Regions from separate parts of the Homo sapiens genome. Here regions 1, 3 and 4 are each linked to region 2. The links are contacts of gene promoters, found by promoter capture Hi-C in blood cells and fetal thymus (Javierre and others, 2016). All regions are on one chromosome and are shown on one strand. The core of a region is centred on a gene start or on the middle of the fragment in contact, and the rest is flanking DNA. Distances in the headings are between cores, read along the strand shown.

Evidence for each region. The method cuts DNA at HindIII sites, captures the fragments that hold promoters and counts their contacts. A CHiCAGO score of 5 or more calls a contact.
Region 1: a contact is called between a fragment that was not itself captured here and the fragment with the promoter of ESCO1 in region 2, in 1 of 17 cell types (activated CD4 T cells). The highest score is 5.4, in activated CD4 T cells.
Region 3: a contact is called between a fragment that was not itself captured here and the fragment with the promoter of ESCO1 in region 2, in 1 of 17 cell types (M2 macrophages). The highest score is 5.7, in M2 macrophages.
Region 4: a contact is called between a fragment that was not itself captured here and the fragment with the promoter of ESCO1 in region 2, in 1 of 17 cell types (non-activated CD4 T cells). The highest score is 5.1, in non-activated CD4 T cells.

What each region holds. Positions count from the first base shown.
Region 1 is chr18:21,080,439-21,085,760 of GRCh38, reverse strand. The region is part of intron 1 of ROCK1 (Rho associated coiled-coil containing protein kinase 1); the gene reads left to right. Among named protein-coding and RNA genes, the nearest start is that of ROCK1, 29 kb to the left of the region's middle. The HindIII fragment of the contact is 1,330 bases long and covers 3,016-4,345 here.
Region 2 is chr18:21,597,464-21,602,275 of GRCh38, reverse strand. ESCO1 (establishment of sister chromatid cohesion N-acetyltransferase 1) reads left to right here and starts at 1,572. Exons shown (of 12, transcript NM_052911.3): 1 at 1,572-1,653. RefSeq lists enhancers at 1-22, 1,347-1,866, 2,934-3,228. The HindIII fragment of the contact is 1,991 bases long and covers 597-2,587 here.
Region 3 is chr18:21,051,275-21,056,461 of GRCh38, reverse strand. All of the region lies in intron 2 of ROCK1 (Rho associated coiled-coil containing protein kinase 1), which reads left to right. Among named protein-coding and RNA genes, the nearest start is that of ROCK1, 58 kb to the left of the region's middle. The HindIII fragment of the contact is 2,697 bases long and covers 807-3,503 here.
Region 4 is chr18:20,991,882-20,996,991 of GRCh38, reverse strand. It overlaps ROCK1 (Rho associated coiled-coil containing protein kinase 1), which reads left to right. Exons shown (of 33, transcript NM_005406.3): 17 at 4,055-4,161. Among named protein-coding and RNA genes, the nearest start is that of ROCK1, 120 kb to the left of the region's middle. The HindIII fragment of the contact is 1,154 bases long and covers 2,158-3,311 here.

The DNA.
Region 1 (5,322 bases), core at 2,431-4,930, 520 kb after region 2:
AATAACTTGCTCAAGATCACATGACTACTAAATATTCTAGCTTGGAATATGAGACAGGATGCCATTTCTGTAGAAGTATTCTCTTACTTTACAAGGTTAATGTCTTAACTTGGTATCTTAAGCCTGTTCTCCCTTACATCTTTTGGAACCTTGTTAAATCATGTATCTTCTATAAAAATATCTTTTCTACCTAAAAATGTTTCATCAAGTTTAAGTTTTAAATCATGCAAACTTCTAGTCTTTCTCATTTATTTAGCCATTTTTCTCATTTCTTCATTTTCCATTAATTTTTCTACCAACCATAAGCTGGTATGTGCACCTTCTCCTCTAACGAAGCATTCTAATTAAGATTAATAATGCCCTTAAAAATTGGCAGTAAAATATACGTAACATGAAATTTGCCTTTTTTTTTTTTTTGAAATGGGGTTGTCCAAGCTGCTCTGAAATTCCTGGGCTCAGGCGATCCTCCCACTTCACTTTCCTGAGTAGCTGGGATTACAGGTGCATGCCACTGCATCCGCCTCCGTTTTAACTGTTCCTGAGTACAATTTGGTGGTGTTAAAGCACATTCACAATTTTGTGTTTTCACCAGTATCTGTTTGCACTATATCATCTGTCTCAAACAAACTCTGTATCCATTAAACAGTAACTCTTTTATTCCCTGTCCCTCCAGCCTATGGTAATCTCCATTCTACTTTCTGTTTCTGTAAATTTGCCATTTCTAGGTACTGTGTATAAGTGGAATCATACAATATTTTTCCTTTTTTGTCTGGCTTATTTCATTTAGCATAATGTTTACAGATTTTATCTATGTTGTAGTATGTGTCAGCATTTCCTTTTTTAAGGCTGAATAATACTACAGTGTATGTACATACCACCTTTTATCCATTCATCTGTTGGTGTACAATTGTGTTGTTTCTACCTTGAGCTATTTTGAATATGCTGCTGTGAACATTGGTGTACAAATATCTGTTCGAATCCCTTCTTTCGGTTCCTTTGGGTGTATACCCAGAAGTGGAATTACTGATCAGGTGGTAATTTTATGAGAAACTGATACACTATTTTTCACAGCAGCTACACTGTTTTACATTCCCACCAGCATTGCCAAGGGTTCCAGTTTCATTACGTTTCATTCCAGTTTCATTCTAACACTTGTTCTTTTCTGATTTTTTAAAATAATAACTATCCTAATGGGTGTCAAGTGATGTTTCATTGTGGTTTTGATTTGTATTTCCCTAATGATTTATGATGTTGAGCATCTTTTCATGTGCTTATTGGCCATTTCTGTCTTTGGAGACGTTTTTATTCAAGTTTTTGCCCATTTTAAAATTGAGTTGTTTTGAATTTTAGGAGTGCCCTACATATTTTGCGTAATAATCTCTTATCAGATATATTATTTGCAAATATTTTCTCCCATTCTGTGGATTGCCATTTCACTCTGTTAATACTGTTCTTTGATGCACAAAAGTTTTTAATTTTGATGAGGTTTAGTTTGTTTTTTTTTTGTTGCCTGTGTTCTTGGTCTCATGTACAAGAGATCATGGTCAAATTCAATGTCCTGAAGCTTCCCCCTATGTTTTCTTCTAAGCATTTTATAGTTCTAGCTTTTATGTTTTGGTCTTTGATCCCTTTTGAGTTAATTTTGGTATATGGTATATTGTAGGGGCTCCCACTTGATTCTCTTGCATGTGGATATGCAGTTTTTCCAGCACCATTTGCTAAAAAGACTGTCCATTATTGAATGGTTATGTCACACATGTTGAAATTAATTGACCATATGTATGTGTGGGTTTGTGCCCCTTTTCCCCCCGCCATTCCATTTTTCTGCACAATTGACCCTTGAACAACATGGGGATTAGGGGCACTGACCACTACCCTCTCTCCATACATTTGAAATACATGAAATACATACTTTTTTAATTTCCCCAAAACTTAACTACTAATAGCCTGCTGTTGACTGAAAGCCTTACTGATAGCAAAACCAGTTGATTAACAACACGTATTTTGTATGTTATATGTAAATATATGTACTGTATTCTTACATAATGTTAGCCAGCAAAAAGAAAATATTACTAAAATCATAAGGAAGAGAAAATATATTTACTGTTCATTAAATGGAAGTGGATCATCATAAAGGTCTTCATATTCACCATCTTCACATTGAGTAGGCTGAGTAGAAGGAAAAGGAGGAGTTGGTCTTGCTGTTTCATGGGTAGCAGAGGTGGAAGGAGGTATAAGTGGACTCATGCAGTTGAAACTTATGTTGTTTGAGCACCAGCTGTATGTGCTTGTCCTTATGCCAGCAGTACACCATTTTGGTTACTGTAGCTTTGTAGTGATTTTTGAAGTCAGTGAATTTGAGTCCTCTAACTTTGTTCTTTTTCAAGATTGTTTTGGCTATTTGTGATCTGAGATTACATTTGAATTTTAGGATGAGGTTTTCTATTTCTGCAAAAAACACCATTGGGATTTTGATAGGGATTACATTTAATCTGTATATTACTTTGAGTAGTATTGCCATTAAAAAAAATATTTTTTCCAGTCCATGAACATAGGATGTCTTTTCATTTATGTCTTCTATAATTTCAGCAATGTTTTATGGTTTTCAGTGTACATGTCTTTAGCCTCAGTTAAATTTATTCTTCAGTATTATTTGTTTTGATGCTTTTATAAATGAAACTGCTCTTAAGTTTCTGTTTGGATTATTCACTGTTAGTATATAGAAATGCAACTGATTTTTGAGTATTGACTAACCTGTAACTTGGCTGAATTTGGTTATGGGCTCTGACGGATTTTTTTGTTTTGTTTTGTTTTGGTGTGTGTGTAATCTTTAGTTTTCCACCTATAGGATCATGTCACCTGTGAATAGATAATTTTATGTCTTTGTTTCCAATTTGGATGCCTTTTATTTCTTTTTCTTACCTAATTGCTCTGGCAAAAACTTCCAATAATGAGTTGAATAGAAGTGACAAAAGGTGACATCTTTGTCTTGTTCCTGATCTCAGGAGAAAAGCTTTCAGTCTTTCATCATTGAGTATGATGTTAGCTGTGGGATTTTCATATGTGGCCTTCACCATGCTGAGGAAGTTTCTTTCCATTCCCTGTTTGTTGATTGTTTTTTATTATGAGAGGGTGTTGAATTTTGTTGAACATTTTATCTGTATCTAATGAGGTGATGTGGTTTTTGTCCTTTATTCTATTAATGTGGTAGATTACATTAAAATATTTTTGTATGTTAAATCAACTGTGCATTCCTGGCATAAATCCCACTTGATCCTGGTGTGTACTTCTTCTCATATGTGCTATATTCTACTTGCTGTTATTTTATTGGGCATTTTTATGTCTATATTCATATGTTTCATAAACTCTGATATGTAATTTTTGTGTGATATTTTTAGTTTTGCTATCAGGGCAGTGCTGCACTCATAGAATGAGTTAGGAAATATTTCCTTCTCTTCAGTTTTTTGAAAGAGTTTGAAAAGGATTCGTGTTAATTCTTCTTTAAACGTTTGGTAGAGGCCGGACATACTGCCTACTCACAATCTGTAATCCCAGCACTTTGGGAGGCCAAGGCAAACAAATAACGTTGAGCTCAGGAGTTCAAGACCAGCCTGGGCAGCATGGTAAAACCCCATCCCTAAAAAAAAAAATTAACCAGGTGTGGTTGCTCACACAAGCTACTCAGGAGGCTGAGGCTGGAGGATAGCTTGAAGTCCAGGAAGCAGAGGTTGCAGTGAACTGAGACTGTGCCCCTACACTTCACCCTGGGCAACAGAGTGAGACCCTGCCTCAAAAAAAGGAAAAAACAAACAAATAAAAATACATAAATGTTTGTTAGAATTCACCAGTGGAGCCATCTGGCCCAGGGATTTTCTTTCTTGAGAGGTTTATTATTACCATTTCTGTCTTCTTACTTGTTACAGTTATTGGTGTATTCTGACTTTCCATTTCTTTATGGTTCATTTTTGGCAGATTGTATGCTTCTAGGAATTTGTCCATTTTATGTAAGTTACCCTTTTTTTCTGGTGTGCAGATGTTCATAATATTCTATTACAATTATTTGTAGAATTGATAGGAATGTCGTCACTTTTATTTCTGAAATTACTAATTTGAGTCTTCTCTCTTTTTCCCTTAGTCAGCTTAACCAAATATGTGCCAATTTTATCTTTTCAGAAGACCTACTTTGGGTCACATTGGCTTTCTCTGTTATTTTCCTATTCTGTGTTTTATTTATCTTCACTTTAATCTTTATTCTTTCCTTCTGTCAGCTTTGGGTTTCATTTGCTTTTCTTTTTCTAGTTCCTTATAGTATTAAGTTAGGTTATTTTTATTGATTTTAAAAGCTTTTTTTCTTTTTAAAATGTAAGCATTTATAGCTATAAATTTCCTCCTTTGCACTGATTTTTCAGCATCCTACTAGGTTTGGTACATTGTATTTTCATTTTCATTTGTCTCAAAGTATTTTCTAATTTCCCAATGATTTTTTCTTTGACCCATAGTTTTAAGAGTTCATTGTCTAATTTCCACGTTTGTAATTTTCCAGTTTTCCCCTATTATTGTTTAGTAGTTTCATTCCATTGTGATTGGAAAAGATACTTTGTGTCATTTTGGTCTTTTAAAAGTTATTAAAACTTGTTTTGTGGCATAACATAATAAGTCTATTCTTGAGAATGTTCCATGTGTACTTGAGAAAAATGTGTATTTTGTTACTGGATAGAGTGCTCTCTCTCTCTTTATAATCTGTTAGGTCCAGTTGGTTTATAGTGTCGTTCATGTCCTCTGTTTTTTTATTAATCTTCTGTCTGGTTCTATTCATTACTGAAAATGGATTATTGAAATCTCCAACTATTTGTAGAACTATGTATTTCTTTCTTAAATTCTTTCAATGTTTGCTTCACATATCATGGGGCTTGTATATTTATATACCAAATGTACATATTTGACGCATATAAATTTATGATAATATATTTTTGGTGAATTAACTCTTTTATCAATATGTAATGTCTTTTTTGTCTGTTAACCATTTTTTTAACTTAAGGTCTGTTTTGTCTGATATTAGCCTACCCACCTCAGTGCTTTTTTTATTTACTATTTGCATGGAGTATTTTTTCCCATCTTTCACTTTTAACCATTTGTCTTTGGACTTGAAGTGAGTTCCTTATGGGCAGCATATAGTTGGATCATGGTGTTTTTGTTTGTTTTTTAAAATCCATTTTGTCAGTCTCTGTAGTTTGATTGGAGAGTTTAGTCCATTTATACTTAAAGTGTTAGTTTTTAGCTCCAGAATTTGTTTGGTTTCTTAATATAGTTTCTTTCTCTTTG
Region 2 (4,812 bases), core at 323-2,822:
TCAGCCTGGGCTGGTCTCAGTGAGACCTTATCCCTACAAAATATAAAAAAATTAGCCTGGCGGCCGGGCGCGGTGGCTTACGCCTGTAATCCCAGCACTTTGGGAGGCCGAGGCAGGTGGGATCACAAGGTCAGAAGTTCGAGACCAGCCTGGCCAAGATGGTGAAACCCCGTCTCTACTAAAAATAAAAAATTAGCCGGGCATGGTGGCAGGCACCTGTAGTCCCAGCTACTCAGGAGGCTGAGGCAGGAGAATTCCTTGAACCTGGGAGGCGGAGGTTGCAGTGAGCCGAGATCGTGCCATTGCACTCTAGCCTGGGTGACAAGAGTGAGACTCCATCTCAAAAAAAAAAAAAAAAATTAGCCTGGCATGGTGTCGTGGGCTTCATACATGCAGTTCTCAGGGAGGCTGAGGCAGGTGGGATCGCTTGAGCCCAAGTCGAGGCTGCAGTGAGCCGTTACTGTGCCACTGCACACCAGCCAGGGCTACACAGCAAGATCCTTCCTGTCACAAAAGAAAGAAGTGTGGGAACCATGAATCCTAGTGATAGAATCTTGGATTCTATCTCTAGAGGCGTCCAAGAGCGAGCCAAAGCTTTGTCTGAACACTCAGTCTGACTAAGTCTAGCAGAATATTTTACAATTTCTGATGATTCTTGCACTCTGATACACAGGAAGAAAGTGTGCAAGGAGAGGGCGAAGCCCTGCATTTTTTGGAGGTGCTGGAGGGCAGTGTAGGGACTGCACCCTCCTTTTTTTTTTATTTGAGACAGGGTCTCACTCGTCCAGACTAGAGTGCAGTGGCCCAGTCTCAGCTCACCACAACCTCCGCCTCCCAGGCTCAAGGGATTCTCCCGCCTCAGCCTCTCGAGTAGCTGGGATTACAGTCGCACGCCACTACCACCCGGCTAATTTTTGTATTTCTAGTAGAGACGGGGTTTCACCATGTTGGCCATGTTGGCCAGGCTGGTCTCGAACTCCTAACCTCAAATGATCCACCCGCCTCTGCTTCCCAAAGTGCTGGGATTACAGGCGTGAACCACCGCGCCCGGCCCCACCCTCCTTCTTTACATTGGCTCATATGGAAGACCAAAGGCACTTGGATTATACATCGCAGACAGAAGCAGCCAAAACCTACATGGCAACCAGTTGCGACAAATTTCCAAGGTAAACCACAACCGCTGGGGGCCTGGGTGGTTTTCAGCTCAAAGCGATGACCCCAGGAACGACAAGCGGCCGCCGCTAGGGGGCGCCGCCACTTCCCTGCCAGGCGACCACCCGCGGAGGCGCGCGCGCTAGGCCTCCCACCGCGCCTGCGCTGAGGATGGACACTAGCTCGCCTTTCCTCGACGCCCAGCCGTCCGGGCCGGGGTGAAAAACTGCGTGACACGCAGTGAGCGTGGCGGCCATCTTCGTCTTCTGGGCACGTCAGCTGAGCCGGTTAGGGCTGAAGAGGAGCGTTGCGCAAGCGCACCCAAGACGGTCACAGGTAACTCCCATCTGACGAGCGAGGCGTCGCCGTCGTCGCCGGAAGTTTGGTGTTTGCGCCGCGGGGGAGGCGGCGGCCGCAGCAGAAGCAGCTGAGTGTCTCCTGATACCCGGATGTGAGGCGATCCGCTGGCGCTAGTCTGACCCTCCGCCAGGCAAAAGGAAGGTACGCGAGCGTCCCTGACGGTCCCCGCCGCCTGTGTCTTCACCTCTCTTTTGCCAGCCCCTTCAGGGAGCGGACAGTTCTCCCTCTTCCTGTTCCACCCTCGGTGGCGTGTTGCCTCGCACGCCCCTTCCTACTGCTCCGGTCCCAGCTCTTCGCGCCCCTGGGAGGGAGGTGGGAGGCTCTAGGCTCCAAGACGCCGTCGCTTGAGGTAGGCAGCTAACGTGCTCGCGTGTCCGCGCACCACCTGCCGCTGTTTGCTGGGCGGTCGAAGTTCATAAGGGGTCGTGACCGCCGACGGGGCAGGGCCGGAGTTCCCAGCACTGCCGCGAGGGCTCCGGGAGCCCCGAGGTGGCGCGCAGCCATTGCTAGCACCGGGGCAGCGCCAGTGCTGGTCCCGCAGGTAGCTCCGGGCCCCGTCTCCGCCCCCTGCGTTTTCTCTTCCCGGCGCTTCACCGGAGCCAGTCCCTCGCCGCCTCCTGGCGCAACCCGCTGACCCGGCCTGAGCCTGGAGGCCTCTGCAGTTTGCGGGGCGCGATGTGGGGTCTTGGTTTTACAGCCTTCAGTTTGGGAGGGGAGCGGGCCCAAGGTCATAGAGTAACTCATGCTGCAAATGGGGGTCTCGGCACAGGTAGGGCGGCTCTGGAGTAGAAATGAGTGCATTGAGGGCCGCAGTGAAGTTTATAGCGATGGAGAGAGGCGAACCAAAGAGAATTGGGTCCTCGATTTTTATCACGGGTTAAGATTATTTTACTATGGGGGTTTATTTTGCACAGGCAGAATGGGATAGCAAGTCCAACAATTCGAAGACTACCTCCTCTCCCTCCGCCTCTCAATGATGCGTCCGAAAATCCGGCGTGTGCTTTATTTTCCGGGGCGATGGGGACGCAGCGGGGACCAGGGGAGGGAGGAAGAGGAGGAGGAAGGAGCTCAAGCTTTGCGATTTGAGAAGTACTATGAACCATGTTTTCTGTAGTCTTAGCTGCAATGAGATTCCTTTAAACAGGAATCGCAGCACACAGTATCTAGATAGTATTACAAAACGATATCTCAATAAATAAGCTTCGCAGGAAACAAAAGCGCTACTTGGTGGCATAAGGTGTGGTTAGTCCCCCCACCAGCATTGGCTTTTTTAAAAAAGTGGATAAAACATAGATTTCAGTTGAAAACATCCAGGTTGCAGTGAACTATGCTATATTCACTTTGTCTTCTGGTCAAGTACTTAGTTTCTGCTTTACACAGGACACCAACACGAATAAAGTTTTAAGTTATTATTTTATTTTGAGACGGGGTCTCGCTCTGTCGCCCAGACTGGATTGCAGTGGTGTAATCACTGTTCACTGCAGCCTTGACCTCCCTCCCCGGCCCCAAGCAATCCTCCCACCTCCGCCTCCCTGAGTGGCTGAGACTACAGGCGTCCGCTACCATGTTAGGCTAAGTTTTCTATTTGTTGTTGAGACGGCGTTTCGCCATGTTGCCCAGGCTGGTCTCGAACTCCTGGGATCAAGTGATCACCTGGGCCTCCAAAAGTGCTGGGATTACAGGCCTGAGCCACTGTGCCTGGTGAATTTTTTTTTTTTTTTGAAAAGCAAAAAATCTAATCAATGGAATTAGACATGGGAGTAGGATGAGAAGTGCTTTAAAACGTGCTTAATTTGGAAGTCGCAAATTCAGGCCTAGAGCATGTGAGGAAATGAGGAAACTAGGACTGTAATAGAGCCACTTTTTCCCTTTTAGGCAGAATGCAGAGTATCACTGTTGGGTCAGATATGTGACTTTGGAAGCACAATTCCAAAATTTGTCCTGGCTTACGAGCTAGAACTCCTTTATCATTGCTAACTGAGGAAAATATGCTATTGTCTCACCTTTCTCAATCAATATTATAATCCTGTAGTGAACAAGTAATTGTTTGTTTTTTTTTTTTGAGATGGAGTCTCACTCTGTCGTCCGGGCTGGAGGGCAGTGGCGAGATCTCGGCTCACTGCAATCTCCGCCTCCTGGGTTCAAGTGATTCTCCTGCCTCGGCCTCCCGAGTAGCTGGGATTACAGACAAGTGCCACCATGCCCGGCTAATTTTTTTGTATTTTTAGTAGAGATAGGGTTTCACCGTGTTGGCCAGGCTGGTCTTGAACTCCTGACCTCAGGTGATCCGCCTGCCTCGGCCTCCCAAAGTGCTGGGATTACAGGCGTGAGCCACCATGCCCGGCCAAGTAATTTTTTTAATGTCCGTCCCATACAAGGTGCTGGCATTTAAATTGATAAATTATGCTTCACAGAATAACTAAAAAAGTACCCTAATTAATGAATGCCATTAACTTCTTTTGCCAGATAGTCCTTTTTAGCTTGGTAATTTATTATGCAGAGCTGATTGTATTTATTCTGTTAATGAACGTGACCAGCGCTGCACAGTTCGAATAATGGATTTTTTTGTAATAGTTAAATATTTTTTCATGACTTTTATTGGCAGATTTTTGTACCACATAGAGTTCTTGGAATACCTTCTATTGAAGGTGATTAAAATTTAGGTACTAGAAACCAACTCCAGTAAAATTGTTACTGTAGATAATTAAGGACTATATTACCCCTTTTGTAACCCTGACTTTCATATTTTTCTGTGGATCATTCAATGAAAATCCTTTGGTTCTGTTTTTCCTGTATAAGTTCTGTATTATAGCTGTATTATAATACTGTAGTTACTTTTGGCAAATAAGAGCATTCTGTTAACCCAGCCATCATGTCTTGTCTTTTCCTGAGGGGAAGGGGCATATACATCTTATGCTTGATTGCATTACAATGCTTAAAGGAAGATTTATATCCTCTGCTCTGTTCAGCTTCCTTTAGACATTTATGGCAGCACGTGTAAGATTCACACAAAAACTCAGAGGGTAAATTAAAAGGTGGTATTAAGTATTACTTTAATGTAGTGGTTCTCAAACTTTTTGGTCTTAGGATCCCCTTACACTCTTAAAAATTATGTAGGACTCCAAGTAGCTTTTGTTTATATAGGTTTATATCTATTGATAGTTACTGTATTAGGAATTAATTTCATATATATTAATTCATTTGAAATAATTAAACTACAGCTTAATATAAATAACATTTTAATTTTAATTAAATTTTTTTTTTTTTTTAGTAACAGTGGCTCACTGTGTTGCCCAGGCT
Region 3 (5,187 bases), core at 906-3,405, 550 kb after region 2:
TTCCTGAAAGATAGGATGTGGAGTGTAAGAAAAAAAGGAGTCAAGAATGCCCCCTAGGTTTTTGTCCTGAGCAAAATTGAGCCATCGGCCAAAGTGTGGGACACATAGGTATAAGTTTTGGGTGAGAATATTTCTTCAGTTTTTGGCACATTAAATTTGAGATGTTTTTCAAAAGAGGATATATTTTGAAAGTAATTGAATAGATAAGTTTGAAGTTTAAGAGAGACATGTAGACTAGAGATAAAAATTTGGAAGTTGATATGTAGATGGTTTTTAAAGCCCACCAGAGAAGTGAGTGTAGATAGAGAAGAAGTCACCATTGAGGGCTGAGCCTTGGAATGCTCCAGTGTTAAGAAATCTGAGAGAAGGGGAGGAACCAGCCAAGGCAACTGAAAACTACTAAGGTTGAAAAGTAAAATCTTCAGTATTGTTGGAAGAATGTTGTGTCCTGAAAGTCAAGTAAAGAAAGTGTATCAGGAGAGAGTGATTGAAGTGTTAAAGCCACTGATATATCAAGATGAGGGCTGAGAATTGGTCATTGGATTTAGCAACATGATGCTCATTTGTGACTTTGACAAGTAGTTTTGAAAGAAAGGTAAGAGCCGACCTGAAGTGGATTTTAGAGCAAATAGTAGGAAAGATTTAGTCACAGAAATTATAGACAACTTTTGAGAAATTTTGCTGCAGTGGGGAGTTGAGTAATGGGACAGTAGCTGCTGAGAGAAATGAGATCAAGAGTTTTTTTTTGTTTCCCTAAGATGGGAGAGAAAACAGCATGGTGGGATCCGGTTAGGAGGGGTAAAGCTTAGTAATAGAGGAGAAAGGGGAGAATTGCTTGAGCAATGTCCTTGAACTACAGTAATGAAAAAGGATGACATCTAGTGCATGAGTGGAGGGTTTAAGTTAAGATAGAAGTAGTCTCCCATAGTAAAATATGAAAAGACAAAATATATGCTTGTACATGCTGATAGTTAAGTGTGTAAGTGGTGGTAAGTCAGTGGTAGTTTTCTTCTGATTGTTTCGTTCGTTTCAGGGTAGTAGCCAAACAAGATCATTAGCTGTGAACGAGGATCAGTGGGAGAGCTGTGGGAGGTGTGTGTGAAGAAAGAAGAAAACTTGAAATACGTCTCTAGGAGAGTGGGAGAGTGACTAGAAATTTAGGATTGCCAAGTAGAACTAAGGGCCAGCTTGATGTTTGTGATTATGAATTTTAAAATAGGATCAGTCATTGTGATTTTATGTATTTATTGAGACATATTCAACTGCATGGGTGCTGACATAGAGTAGTTGGAGAGTTGGATTTAACTATAATAGGATTGTCGTTTTGCCAAACTAAGTAAAGTGAGGCAGAAGAGAGCTCATGACATTAAAGGTATATGCAAGGGAGTGATTATAATAATTGACCATGTAATTTAAGCTGGCTAGGTAGGAAAAAGAGGCTATCAGTGCAACGAGGGAAAGTATGAGTGTAGTAGAATCAATGGATTGGAGGTCCTGGTGGGGTTGGGGTTGTTGGAGTTAAGATGCTAGAGGAACTAAGCAGGAAAGCTATAAGAGAGTGCTTAGAGAGTGTAAGTTTTCTAATTGAAATTGTTGGAAGATTATAATTATGAGTAATGACAAGGTCTAGTATATGACCATGGAAATGAGTGACCAAGGTAAGGTAGAGGACAAGATCATTGAAGGAGAGAAGTATAGGTGTTGAGAGGCCAAGGTACTGTAAGTATTATCTGTGGGTATATTAAAGTTATTAAGAATTAAAACAGGAGAATATTGGAGAGAAGTTCAGTAAATCAGGAAGTAAAACTGTCTAGCGATGAGACGTGGTGACCTCTGAGAGTCAGTAGATTACAGCAACAATGAGAGGTGGGAAATACAACCTAATATAATGAAAATCAAAGCTAGCAGATTTAGGGGTGGGGATGTGGGGGATCTCCCACTTTCAGGGTCGGTTGTCTAAGGCATGTGGAAAAGTAAAGGTCCCCACTTGAGAGCTGTGGGGAAGCAGTGCCCTCAGAAGGCCACTGGGTTTTATTAGAGCAGGAGTTGGTGAACTACAGCCCACAGGCCAAATCTCACCCACCACTGTGGCTCATGAACTAAGCATGTTTTTTGTATTTTTTCATGATTGAAAAAAAAGTCAAAAGAATATATAATTAAAGAATATACAATTGCATATATAAGTTTGAAGTTTAAGAGAGACTAGACTAGAGATAAAAATTTGGAAGTTGATATGTAGATGGTTTTTAAAGCCCATCATGATCATGATGGTGAAATAATGAAACAATATCATGAATGTGAAATAATAGGAAATTCAGATTTCAGTGTCCATAAATAAAGTTTTCTTGGGACGTTGCTACACTTTAAAAAATGTATTGTGTATAGCTGCTTTTGTTCTACAACACCTAAGCTGAGTAGCTACAACAGCGACCATATGTGATGCTCTCCTTGCTTCACACTGCTGCTCAGCACAGTAGAAATCACAGTGATGCTGTTACAGCTTGACAGTTTTGAGTGCTATATGTATCACCATATCACAACATTTTATTTGTTTTCTATTACCAGTACATACGCATGTGTCAAAGCAAGAAGAGAAGAGTATACTTGAAATGTTGTCTTTTTTTTTCCCTCCCCTAAAAGACTGTCACACAGGCAGGAGTGCAGTGGCACATTCATAGCTCACTGCAGCCTTGAACTCCTAGGCTCAAGCAGTCCTTCTGCCTCAGCCTCCCAAGTAGCTGGGACTACAAGTGCATGCCACCATGGGCCTGGCTAATTTTTAAATTTTTTGTAAAGACAAGTCTTGGTATGTTGTCCAGGCTGGTTTCAAACTCCTGGCCTTGAGCAATCCTCCTGCCTCTGTGTCCCAAAGCACTGGGATTACAGGTGTGAGCCATCATGCCCAGCCCAAATGTTGTCCTTTTTGAAGCATAATGGAGAATGGATTATTTTTATCAAGTTAGGTGGCAAAGCATTTTTTTAAATTATGCAATGACAGTATAGCTGTGCTAAAGGAATACAGTGTACTTTGGACATTCCCAGACTAAGCACTCACTATGATCTTCCTGACTCATAGGACAGCAACAGTGAGAAAAAATAGAAAATTTAAAACAGAGTATCTCATCCCAGTAAAATTTCTTCATAAAGAAAAATGTTCATGCAGGCTTGACCAAAAAAAAAAAAGAGGCTGCAATGTTATGTAAGTGTATGAGTGGTTTATTCACTAGCCTAGCAGAGAAAGCTGTTCACTGATGGTGTGTGATTGCAGCAGCCAAACAAATGTGTACAGAGAGAAAAACTTGCCTAAGACTGTTAGCCTTTGGGCAAGAATAGCTGCTCAAAGAATTGGGGGTATTGGGAGTGGCATCAATAGTCAATTAAAAAATAACCAATTTTGAGTTGTTTTCCTTGACTCTTGTTTATTTGAGGAATCAGTGCAGAGTTTGAAGTGACTGAAGAATTAGCCTGTGTATATAGTCTCCCCTTACAGACTTGGGAAAGCTTGGTCTTATTTTCTTTAGAATATGTATCACAATGTGAAATTAAGTTACATATTTATTTATGTACTTATTATTTTTCTTTAGAGCAGCAGTCCCCAAACTTTTTGGCACCAGGGACCAGTTTTGTGGAAGACAGTGTTTCTATGGACAGGATGGGGGTTGGGGGGTGGCAGACGGGATGGTTTTATGAAACTATTCCACCTCAGATCATCAGGCATTAAAAAAAGATTCTCATAAGGAATGTGCAACCTGGATCCCTCGCATGTGCAGTTCACAATAGGGTTTGTGCCCCTGTGAGAATCTAATGCCGCTGCTGATCTGACAGGAGGTGGAGCTCAGATGGTAATGCTTGCCTACCCACTGCTCACCTCATGCTGTGTGGCCCAGTTCCTAATAGGCCATGAACCGGTACAGGTCCACGGCTCAGGGGTTGGGAATCCCTGTTCTAGTGCATGCATTGTTTTCTGTCTCAATGGAGCCATAAGCCTACAAAGTTCAGGCTATATAGTACCCCTAGACCAAGAGTGGGTTTCTTACATGACTACTTTACAATAAATAGGCTTCGTTTAAGATCCTGAGATTTGGGTAGGTGTGAATACATAGTCCTGAGTGTTTGGGAAACTAAAGTCCAATGCTTAGAATTTTACCATTAAGTTCTTTATTAGTTCTAGGTTGGACCCTTGGTGAGATGAACTAGGAAAAGTAGAACCATAGAATCTCTGAGTTTGATTGAAAGCCATCCAACAGAGGCATTTACACTTGTTAGCACGTAAACCTGTATTAGAACAAGCTAGAATCCAAGGCAGTAGAACATAGAAAGATCTTTTAGATTTCAAATGACTTGTCTGCGGTCTTTGTCAAGACTCTACAGCCTATTCTAGCTCATAGCTAGAGCCAAGAATCTTTTTTTCAACGTAACAGGCTATTATATTATCCAGGTTCAGAACTTTCTCTCTCATCTGGGGTATTACAATACTCTTAAAATTCTCCCCACCTCCTGTCTTGACTTTATTGAACTCATCTTCTACGTATTTCCTAGAGTAGTTTTCCTGAAATGTAAGTTTGACTATGTTGTTTTATCCATCATAATTCCTTTTCATGGCTTCCTGCCCATAGTAGTGGTGCTTCTCAGTTCCCAGCAGATTCCAGAGCATTCCTCAGGGACTGTATTATGGAAGAGCCTGAAGTAGATGAGGCTCTGTCTCTTCTCTGACACCTTTAACCTCATTTAGAACAGAGCAGTTTCTTTGATCTATTTCATGTAGAGAGCTACTTTAAACTTTAATGTGAAAACGGTTTTCGGTACTTAAATATTAGTTTTATTACTGTAACTACTGGCTGATAGGTAAAGTTCAAGCTCCTGAACTTACCTGGGGCTCTCCAGCCTCTTCTGTCAGTCCTTACTACAAACTTGATACTCCAGCAACATAGAACTTAGATACAGTTCCTCTGTGCTTGGTTTACATTGCTTGTCTGCTTATATTGTTCACTTGTTCTTTCCTTTTTTTGAGACAGAGTTTCGCTCTGTCGCCCAGACTGGAGTGCACTGGTGTGATCTTGGCTCACTGCAACCTTCACGTCCTGGGCTTAGGTGATCCTCCCACCTCAGCCTCCTGAGTAGCTGGGACTACAGGAAACTGCCACTGCACCCAGCTAATTTTTAAAAAAATATTTTTTGTAGAGACAG
Region 4 (5,110 bases), core at 1,485-3,984, 610 kb after region 2:
TGATAGGTTTTAATTTCTTGCTGCTTATTTTTTGGGTATCTATCTGTTGTATGTCTTTTGATTTGAGGTTACCATGAGGCTTGCAAATAATATCCTCTAACCCGTTATTTTAAACTGATGATGACTTAACAGTGATGGCATTAACAAACTAACAAACAAGCAAAGAGAAAACTAATACAAACTCTACACTTTAACTTAGTCCCCTGCATCTTAACTTTTCGTTGCTTCTATTTATAATCTTACTGCCTCTTGGAAAGTATTATAGTTGTTATTTTTGATCAGTTCTTTTAGTCTCTCTACCCAAGATATGAATAATTTATACACTGCAATTGCAGTGTTACAGTAGTGTTTTTCAGTGTACTTACCATTACCCTATGGCCACCACCCTGGAACTGTGCTGAGTCAGACCTCTGAACCCTTAGAACCTTCTTGTGCTTGAATATTGGTATCTTTTTCTAGATTTGGGAAGTTCTGTATTATTACCCTTTGAGTAAACTTTCTACCCCTATCTCTCTTTCTGCCTGCTCTTTAAGGCTAATAACTCTTAGATACTCTCTTTTGAGGCTATTTTCTAGATCTTATATGCATGTTCCATTCTTTTTAATTCTTTTTTGTCTCCTATGACTGTATTTTCAAATAGTCTGTCTTCAAGCTCACTAATACTTTCTTTTGCTTGAACATTTCTGCTGGTAAGAGACCCTGATGCATTCTTCAGTATGTCGGTTGCATTTTTCAACTCCGGAATTTCAGCTTGATTCTTTGTACTTATTTCAGTCTTTTTGTTAAATTTATCTGATGGGATTCTGAATTCCTTCTTTGTTTTATCTTGAATTTCTTTGATTTTCCTCAAAACAGCTATTTTAAATTCTCTGTCTGAAAGGTCTTATATCTCTGTCTCTCCAGGATTGGTCCCTGGGGCCTTATTTAGTTTCTTTGGTGAGATTATGTTTTCCTGAATGGTCGTGATGTTTGTGGTTGTTTGTTGGTGTCTGGGCATTGAAGAGTTAGGTATTTATTGTAGTCATTGCAGTCTGGGCTTGTTTGTACCTGTCATTTTTGGAAAGGCTTTCCAGGTATTCGAAGGGACTTAGGTGTTGTGATTTAAGTTTTTGGTCACTGTAGCCATATCTGTATTAGGAGGCATCCGAAGCCCAGTAATACTGTGGCTCTTGCAGACTCTTAGAGGAACCATGTTGGTGGTTTTGGGTAAGATGTGGAAGAATTATCTGTATTATAATGCAGAGGCTCTGTTCTCTTCCCTTTCTCCCAAACAAATGGAGTCTCTCTGCGCTGAGCTGCCAGGGAGAGGGTGGGGAGGGGTTACACAATCACCCTTGTAGCCACCACCACTGGAACTGTGCTGGGTCAGACCTGAAGCCAGCACAGCACTGGGTCTCAATGCTGCCAGGCTTGGGACTCTCCCTTCAGGGCAGTGGGCTCCTCTCTGGCCCAGAGCAGGTCCAGAAATGCCATCCAAGAACCAGGACCTGGAATTGGGGACCCCCAAGAGCCTGCTTGGTGCTGTACCCCACCATGGCCAAGCTGATATATATCACTAAGCTGATTGTTGGTTCTTATGAAGGTGCTTTTCTGTGCGAATGGTTGTTCAAATTGGTGTTCCTGCAGAGAGGACAATCGGTGGAGGCTTCTATTTGGCCCTTCTCTGCCTCCCCCTGTTTTATTTTTAATTGACACATAATAATTGTACATACTTATGGGATGTTTTGGTACGTATATGCAATGTGTAATGATCAAATTAGGGTAATTAGTATGTACATCTCCTCAAACATTTGTCATTTCTCTATGGTGAGAACATTCAAAATCATCTCTTCTAGCTATTTTGAAATATGCAGTATGTTATTGTTAACTATAGTCAGTCTACTGCATGGTGGGAACATTTTCACTCTTCAGTGCTGCTTTTGGATAAGCAAAAGGTCTTAATTTCTTGTATTTGATGTAGTCCAGTGTATCTAGTTTTTTCTTTATTGTTAGTGTGGTTTTTAGTGTGGCCTATCGAAAAAGTCTTTGACTAGATTATGAAGATAATATCTTCTATTAGCTTTTAGAAATTTTGTTTTAATCAACTTAGATTATGATACCTAGTGTTTGGGCCCTTATTCCTCCCATTATGTTTTTATATTTTCTGTATATAAAGCTTCTTTGCTTTCGTGTATTGCACAGGTAAGTTCTAGTTTATTTCCGACATTTCTTTTCAGACAGAGTAAATGAGGAAAATAAACTATACTTAATTTGTCTCTTTCATGTGGTTGCTAGGAATCTTGCGTGGATTCAACCCATATAGTTTATTATCTTGTCTCCTTAGGAGTTGGTTTGCAGTAAGCTGCTTCTACATGAAAAATTCAAAGATTAATCTGAATTACTATCTTTGTACAGATTTTTTAAAATGATTTTTAAAACAGATTTTCTCCTAGAACTCCTGGGCTCAGGCGATCCTCCCACCTCAGTCTCCCAAGTAGCTGGGACTATAGACTTGTGTCACCACACCCAGCTGATTTTTGTATTTGAGACAGGGTTTCACCATGTTGGCTAAGCTGATCTCAAACTCCTGAGCTCAGGCAATCTGCCTGCCTCAGCCTCCCAAAGTGCTGAGATTACAGGCATGAACCACTACACCTGGCCTATTTTAAAGATAATTATATCATTTATTTTTTAAATTATAATTTCTAAATAGCACTTCAACATTTAAACATCTTAGCACATTTGCTTTATCTCTGTCCACACAAACACACATATACTCTGTATTTTTGGTCAATTATTTGAAAGAAAGCGGCAGCTGTTTCTTTCTCCTACATGAACTTACTGCAACATGAAAATATCTTGAGTGTGTAAATAAAATTATTTATTTCATTGTTTTCTAGATCTAGAACTAATCTAGCAGATATGCATTATCAGGTGCCAAAGATTTAATATTTATTTGTTTATTAAATAACTACTTTAGAAACCCTGAAATATGGGAGGTGACTAGAGTACATTTGAGAGTGGGACAAGTACAGTAAGTCAAACTGTACTTTGAGTAGTACAGAAGTTTTACTGGCCCATCTGGTACTTCATCTATTTTCCTTGTCAAATCCTAGGCCACTTTGAATTACAAAATATGAAAATATAATTTTTATTTTAAGCTAGACAATATATTAAGTCAGATACTACATGTGTTAAATTTGTGTGTTTATTAAATATTTATGCCTTAAATACCTGTAAGGTTAAAGCATGTTTTAATGAGTAGACAATTACTAAATATATGAGTTACTACCATTGCAAGGCACGAACATCAGGTAAGTTAAAACTAAGCTTTGTTAGAGTACTTGAATTCCTTAAAAACTTAGTTTTCTGTGAAAATAGAGTTTGGCTCCATTAAGTTTAAAAGTAATTTTATTAAACACTTTGCAGTGTCTGGCACATATGGACCACTTAATACTTGCCTTAATTAACTAAAGGCTCTCACCTTTAATGTGGTTAGAAAGAGCACTCAGTGCCGGGCGCGGTGGCTCACACCTGTAATCCCAGCACTTTTGGAGGCTGAAGCAGGCGGATCACGAGGTCAGGGGATTGAGACCATCCTGGCTAACAAGGTGAAACCCCGTCTCTACTAAATATACAAAAATTAGCCGGGCCTGGTGGCAGGCGCCTGTAGTCCCAGCTACTCGGGAGGCTGAGGCAGGAGAATGGCGTGAACCTGGAGGCAGAGCTTGCAGTGAGCTGAGCTTGTGCCACTGCACTCCAGCCTGGGCAACAGAGCGAGACTCCGTCTCAAAAAAAAAGCACTCAGTAAGGACTTGGATCTGATTTCTAGCTCAAGCTGAGGCTTCATCTCTTTGGCTACTTGTAAATAAGGAATATGCACTAGATTATATCCAATTAGCATTAATATTTTTATTCCATATCTTGTGTTTATTGTGAAAACACTTAATAAAATCTTATCGGATCAGGAAACTTAATACATTAAAAAAACATTTTTTAAAAACTAAATTGTCAATACTGAACAAAAAGACTTCTTTCAATGACTACAGACTTGAACTTTTTTCTCACTTGATAGCTCGAATTACATCTTTACAAGAGGAGGTGAAGCATCTCAAACATAATCTCGAAAAAGTGGAAGGAGAAAGAAAAGAGGCTCAAGACATGCTTAATCACTCAGAAAAGGTAAATGATTTAACATATACCAATTATTATAAAATAGTAATTACTGATTATCATAGACTACTAGGTGGTTTTATAAAATAGCATTTATTCTTAATGTTTATATAGTTACATTTCTAAAAGTTTTTATGTTTGATTGGTTGTATGTGGGGCTGTATGTATGTCTTATTTAGGGTTTTGTTATTTGTTATTTTTGTTTTTACCCTAGAGAGCATTAGATGTTTCATGTTAACAGATCATCACAGATTCCTTTGGTTTGGAAATACCTTTTTATAAAGTATGTTTTCCTATTTTCTTTGTACATGAGTAAGATGAATGTGCTGTGAGGGCTTATGAAGAAGGAAAACAACAGATCAGTACGTGGTAGATGATGAGTACCTGTTCTGTTGTTTTACAGTTAGCAAAATAGAAAAGAGCATAAAGTGATTGGCCTTTGCATTTAGAATTTTCTTAACAATAAAAATTTCATTGGTTATTCTCTGTTATATACCTAGCTAAGAGTTAAATAGATGATATAGAGATACAGCTGTCACTTTTTCAAAGCCTCTGAAATGTTGGAGGTTCAATAGAACCTCAGGTAAATTATCAGAAAAGCCACTACTTATCTTGTCCTTTGGACATGTTTTGTCACAATTAGAATAGTTTTTGATGGCCAAGCTGGTGTAAATGTGGACATAGGATAAAAGAAGCTTGAAGAGTAGAAAAGGGTACCCAAACAGAAATGGAATATATTTTGACTCATTTTTCCTTTCTATATCAATGACTTGCCACAGGATACTTTGTGGGGTTTTTTTGTTTGTTTTTTGTTTTTGTTTTTTTGTGAAAGCAAAGTAAATGTGGATATAGATGCAAATGTAGATAAAGATGATTTAATATATTTTTTTAAAGTGGTAGCAGGCCAGGCAAGGTGGCTCATGCCTGTAGACCCAACACTTTGGGAGGCTGACACAGG